Regions from separate parts of the Homo sapiens genome. Here region 1 is linked to region 2. Evidence: promoter capture Hi-C in 16 types of primary human blood cells and fetal thymus (Javierre and others, 2016). All regions are on one chromosome and are shown on one strand. Each heading gives the region's core, a stretch centred on a gene start or on the middle of the fragment in contact. The rest is flanking DNA. Distances are from core to core; before and after follow the strand shown.

Region 1 (3,338 bases), core at 382-2,881, 790 kb before region 2:
TTTTATTTTATTTTTTGAGACAGAGTCTCACTCTGTCACCCAGGCTGGAGTGCAGTGGTACAGTCTTGGCTCACTGCAACCTCCACCTCCCGGGTTCAAGTGATTCTCCTGTCTCAGCCTCCCCAGTAGCTGGGATTACAGGTGCACACCACCTAACCCGGCTAATTTTTGTATTTTTAGTAGTGACGGGTTTTGCTGTGTTGGCTAGGCTGGTCTCGAACTCCTGACCTCAGGCGATCTACCCACTTCAGCCTCCCAAAGTGCTGGGATTACAGGCATGAGCCACCATGCTGACCAGACCATTTAAGTTTGTAATGTACAGCTTTGAAATGATATAAGGAGATGTGGCTGCATTTTTAGAAATCTATAATTAATCTGTGAATTTCTAAACAGTATCGTTATTTCTGTTTAAATGTTCCCTCCATTTTATTAACTATTTGATGTCTCATTTTATAATTAAGAAAACATAGAGTAATAATGCTGTAGTTATTTTAGAAGTATATTATTTAGCATGACAATATTGGACTAAAAATATACTATATTTTGATTAGTGTTGTACTTAAAGTTAATTAATAGTGATGCACTTAAAGTTCATTAATAGTGATGCTAATCCAGTGATTTGCTAATGTAATCCATTGTTTTACTTCTGTAGATTCTTATAGAACAGATTGGTACTCAGGTGATACATAAACAGCATCCAGATCCTGATTCTTCAGTGAAGATACAAAACCCTCGTATGTATTTTATATACTTTAACAAAAACTACCTTTTGCTACTTAAAAAGAAAGTCACTGTGAACAACCTAAAATTGATGTTGTTGAAACAGATTGTTAGATGAATGTTTCATTAAGGGTGATGATATTATACTAGTTTTGTTTGGGTTTTATATTGAGTATTCCTTCGAATCAACCTTAAGTTATGTGGAAATTCTTATATAAAGGTTTTGAAGAATTGTTTGCTTAAGGTCTTGATGTAATATATGTTCAGACTTTCAGCAAAATTTTGATTGTGCTATTTAGTGATGTCAGGCAGAATTACAAGAACCATTGGGGTAGTTTTATCTTAAATTACTGTGAATATAAAAATACCAAATTTGGAATAGAACAATATGTCTTCTTTATTGTTTATGAAGATAGTCTTGTTAAACAGTCTTTTCTTTTGATATTTAGAATTCTTAAGCACTTGTATAAAGTATACCTTTTTCATCTTGCTTTTTAAGATCATGTTATTAAAATTATTAGTTTGTAGAGTTTTAAAATTTAATTACATTTTATGTGGTTAGGTGTATTTGTGTGTTTGGTACTCCAGTGCTAATTTTCAAAGCACGTGGCTTTGAGGTTTAATTTTCCTCAGCTTTCAGAGAAACGTGATGTCATTATTTTGCCTATGTTGCCCAGGCTGGTCTAAAACTCCTGGGCTCAAGCAATCTTCCCACCTCAACCTCCCAAAGTGCTGGTATTACAGGCATGAGCCTACTGCACCTGGTCTAAGTGCATATTTTTAAAAGAATTTTTTTTTTTGTTTTAATTTAAGCTAAGAAGCTAAGTTCTGGAGATTATTTATTTATTTAGAGACCGAGTCTTGTGCTCTGTTGCCCAGACTAGAGTAGAGTGCCAGGATCTCAGCCACTGTAACCTCTGCCTCCTGGTTCAAGTGATTCTCCTGCCTCAGCCTCCCTGGTAGCTGGGATTACAGGTGCCTGCTACCAGGCCTGGCTAATTTTTGTATTTTTTGTGGAGATGGGATTTCGCCATGTTGGCCAGGGTGGTCTTGAACTCTTGACCTCAAATTATCCAACTGCCTCAGCCTCCCAAAGTTCTGGGATTACAGGCATGAGCCGCTGTGCCTGGCCTAATTTAAGCTAAATTCTGGAGATTTAAATAGCTTTATGCTAAGACCATTACAATAGTAGTTTAGTTTGCATTTTCTGGGGAGATGGGATGTTGAATAGGTTTTAATTTCCTTTGGGTTTTTTGTGTCTAATTTTACTTTTAAGATTATGAAAGAAAATCTTCACACCTTTAAAAATTCTCTATGGTAGGCCGGCCGTGGTGGCTCATGCCTGTAATCCCAGCACTTTGGGACGCCAAGGCAGGTGGATCACGAGGTCAGGAGTTCAAGACCACCCTGACCAAGACGGAGAAACGCTGTCTCTACTAAAAATACAAAAATTAGCTAGGCGTGGTGGCAGGTGCCTATAATCCCAGCTATGAAAGACTGTGTGTGCATACCATAAATTATGATGAGGAATCTAAGAATTTATTATATTTTTCTGAGATTTTGATTATAGTATTTTTTATTTTATTTCATTATTTTTTTTTGAGACAGAGTCTTGCTGTGTCGCTTAGGCTGGGGTGCAGTGGCACGATCTTGGCTCACTGCAGCCTCTGCCTCCTGGGTTCAAGCGATTCACCTGTCTCACCCTCCTGAGTAGCTGGGATTACAGGCACACGCCACCACACCTGGCTAATTTTTATATTTTTAGTAGAGATGGGGTTTTGCCATGTTGGCCAGGCCGCTCTCGAACTCCTGACCTCAAGTGATCCACCCACCTCAGCTTCCCAAAATGTTGGAATTACAGGCGTGAGCCACCTCGCCCGGCCTGCTTGTTTTTAAGATCAACTTTACTATTTGGTATATCTCAGAGAGAGTAAGCAGTTTCACTGACATTTAATTCATTTATAATTTAACTTGTTTTATTTTAACCTTTTAAAGTTCAGCTTTATTTTTGCACATTTGAATCATGAAAGAAATTTCCTTTCATATTTATAAATGCTTTCTAATGAATGTATTGTCATTTCTTTCCAGAGGTGATTTTTTTTAATAACAGAAGAGGATGTTTTTGGTAGACATTTGTGTTAGGGAAACTAAAGAAATTGCAATAGATGGATGACCTTCTATCATGAGTTTTTTGTTGAGTTTGGTTTTTACTTATTTATAAACTGTCTTACAGAGATACTAAAAGTAATTGCGACCCTACTTCGAAATTCTCCCCAGTGCCCAGAGAGCATGGAGGTTCGCAGAGCCTTTCTTTCTGACATGATTAAACTTTTTAATAACAGTAGAGAAAACAGGAGGTAAGCTGAATCAGAAAGCATTTATTTGCAGTATTCAAATGTACTTTTGTATAAGCCCATTTTATCTAAGAAAAATTGCTTTAAAAATACTGTGAAATGATTTTTCTATTTTTTTTATTAAGAGTATGTAAATAATGTACCACATAGTTAAGTTAGAATTTTTAGTACCACATTGTCGAATTGTTCTTAATGTATAACTAAATGTGTTTCTTTTTCGGGGGGAAAGGGAGGGGCAGGGTTATTTTGTTTTAAACCTTTAGA
Region 2 (3,113 bases), core at 203-2,702:
CAACCACAGCTTCTGACAGCAGTCACAACAGGACCCCGAATACTGGAACATGACAGGAGCCTGCACCAGGGTCCACACCGAGGGTCCAACAGAGCTTATTAGTAGGGGATTACCCAGCTCCCCATGGGAGAACCATTTTCTCAAACAGTTTGCACTTCAATACAAATAAGTTCAACAATCTTAGGAGATGCCACCAGTGCCTAAATTGGCCTGACCATCAGGAAATTTTTTCCTTCTTTAAGAGACAAACCTCTTGGGAAGGAAAGTCAGTGTGTATGTGGGCACCCCACCGGCCCCCACCCCCAGCCAATCTCTAGAGAAGCAGACAGAAGCATCAATTCCCGTGCGGCTTGGAAAGCACCCCGCGGGCTCCCCGCTGCGCCGGCTCACGCCCACTGCACCTGCCGGCGCTCCGCCGCACCTGCCGTGCGGCGCCCTCCCCTCCTACCTTCCAGCAGCTCGTCCAGGCTGGTGACCTTCCGGCTGCCGTCGATGGTGTAGATAGTGCGGACACCCTGGGGCAGGTTCACGTTGTCCGACAGGGAGCGGGTGAGCTCTATGAGGAGCGCATCGAAGGACCGGAAGCGGTCGCTGGAGATGGCAAACACCAGGCCCTTGAAGTAGCGGTCCCCGTTCCGGTAGAAGCGCGCCTTCTTGGCCTTCTTCTCCGAGCTGAGGGCCTGCAGGGTCCGCGTGCGGTAGAAGCTGCAGTGGGCACTGTGCGCCGGACTGGGGATGAGCCCGTTCCCCTTGGGGCCCGAGCTGCTGCTGCCCCCGGAGGAGCTGGGGGCCCCTCTCCGCGACCCCGGCCGCGGCCTTTTGTCCCGTTCCTCAAAGTGCTCCAGCTCGATACTCCTGGTGCTGGCCATCGCGGCTGCTCCGAGGGCGTCCGCAAAAAGACGTTCCGGGCCGACTAAGGGTGCGAGCGCCGGTGCAGGGACGTCTGACTGCGAGGGCCCTTAACGCGCCGGGACACCTGGCTCTGGCATCCCGCCCTCTCCGCGCAGGTGGGGCCGAGGAGCCGCGGAGGAGCCGACCCGCCCGCGCCCTCAGCTAAAAGTGTCCGCAGCGCCGAGCTGCCCAGGTCATTGTCCAGTGCGACTTGCTCCGTGCCTCCCGCCTGCCGGGGAGCCCCACGCCCCCGCAAGCGCCTCCTCCACCCGGCCACGCCTCACAAGTCCCGCTCGGGAGCCGACCGGGAGAGGCAAAGTTGGGCCGCCCGAGGCTCGCGCTGGGCCCGCGGGCGCCCACAAAGCTCGGGCGTCTGCCGAGCGCTCCCGGGAGCGCCGAGGGGAGGAAGGAAGGAAGGGTGGGGCGGGGCGCGGAGCGTGGGAGAGGCCCCCGGGGGAGTCGCGCGGGCCCAGGCCCGGGGTGCAGCGCCGCCGCCTCGGCCGCGCCCGGATCCCGCCCGCCGGGCAGCGCGCGCCGTTCGGGGCTGAGAGGGCCGTGTCTGGCCCCTTCCTTCCCTGGAGCGCGGCCCTAGCGGGAAATAATGCAGCCCGCCTCCCACGCAGCGGTCAGGCCCGGCCCACTGGCAAGCATCCGCGCTCTGGCCTCCCTCCGCCGCCGACAGGCTGTCAGCGCTGGAGGAGGCTTCCCGGCCCCGGGGATGCCAAACCGCGGAGAAGGGGAGGAGGGGGCGGAGGAGGGGGCGGAGGAGGGGGCCGAGCGCCGGCGCGGGAGGAGCAGCTCCTGCGGGTCCCGGGCAGCCCCGCCCGCCTGACGGCTCCTGCCCGGCGCCGCGCGTTAATGGGCGCAGCCGCGACGCGCGCTCCTCCGCCTGGGAAACGTAACCGCGCAGGCCAAAAACTACAAAGGAAGGAGATTCAAGGGCAGGGAGCACATCCCCAGCCAGCATCCCAGTGAGGACCCCAGGCCAAACTACCGCAGAAATCCGAAGCCCAGCATTGACTTGGGGCACACCATTCATTTTTTTTAAAAAAGATTTGTTGCTTTATTAGAAAATCCTTTGAGAAAACAGCCTCCACTGTTTCCATTGCAGATTCGCTAATATGGTACGTTCAGTAACTTTGAATGAATGATGAGAAGTTATTGGGTGGTAGAGGGGGTTATGTAATCAACGAATATTTATCGAGAGCGTACCATGTGTCAGGCATTGTTTCTGTCACTGGGATGCCCTAACAAAGGAAAGAGAGACTCTGCACCCACTCCCCCCGCCCCGCATATTTAATGTTGTCAATTAAAGCTTCTTACCTAAGAGGCCTATCATTTGTGAGCACCCATCATAGTGGAAATCTTAATGCCGTAGTGTCTATTCAACAATAAAAACATCTTTTCCAAGACTTAAGAGAAATACTAGTTACTTGCATTTTGTTATTAGGAAAAATAAAGCTCAAATATGTTTGATCCCAATTTGGCACGTGAAACCTTAGAACATTCAACACCTGGTTTTCTGAGCAGCCCTAGACAGCAATCCAAACTGACCTTTCAGGAAGAAAGGCATAGTTGCTTTTTTTCGGGTTGAACTGAGTCCTGGAAGAGCATGAATAAAAGAAGGTAGAAGCACATGCAACGGTCTAGCATCTGTGAAGTTGGTGCGCCCCACCAAACACACGCACACACACGCATACACACCCTTCATGGCAGCTCCAGAAAGGTCTCCTGCTCGGTGCACAATACTACTCCTAAGGCAGTTCTGGGCATACACCTGGGCATACCTAACTTCCTGCGGGGTTGGGGCATGCTAGGAAGTCAGAGCTGATCTGAGGCTTCAATGTAGTTTTTCTAGAGGAAAATCCTGCAGCATCATTAGGTCCACCACCTTAAAAGGCCTCAACCTAGATCAGTTAAATCAGAATTTCTGGAGACGGGCTTCTCCAACAGTATTTTTTTAAAAGTACCCCTAAGGTATATCCAGAGTTTCCAACCACAGGCTGTAACACCAGGAATCAAATAAATCAGTGCTTCTTCTCAAACTTTAATATATTTACATGTCATAGGGGAATCTCGTTAAAATGCAGATTGCTATTCTGTAGCTCTGGGGTGGAGTTTGAGATTCTGCATTTCTGATGAGCCCCTGGGTAATGCCAATGCTGCTGGTCTTGGTACAAGACTTTGAGAAACAAGAAACTAAATTGCAAATTTATTGAGAT

What was found. The method cuts DNA at HindIII sites, captures the fragments that hold promoters and counts their contacts. A CHiCAGO score of 5 or more calls a contact.
Region 1: a fragment that was not itself captured here is called in contact with the fragment with the promoter of DCLK2 in region 2 in 1 of 17 cell types (M0 macrophages); the score reaches 5.2 in M0 macrophages.

What each region holds. Positions count from the first base shown.
Region 1 is chr4:150,867,921-150,871,258 of GRCh38, reverse strand. LRBA (LPS responsive beige-like anchor protein) reads left to right here. Exons shown (of 57, transcript NM_001364905.1): 20 at 653-734; 21 at 2,954-3,077. Among named protein-coding and RNA genes, the nearest start is that of LRBA, 150 kb to the left of the region's middle. The HindIII fragment of the contact is 4,699 bases long and covers 1-3,338 here.
Region 2 is chr4:150,076,784-150,079,896 of GRCh38, reverse strand. It overlaps DCLK2 (doublecortin like kinase 2), which reads right to left and starts at 1,452. Exons shown (of 16, transcript NM_001040260.4): 1 at 449-1,452. The coding sequence starts at 869. The HindIII fragment of the contact is 6,630 bases long and covers 1-2,208 here.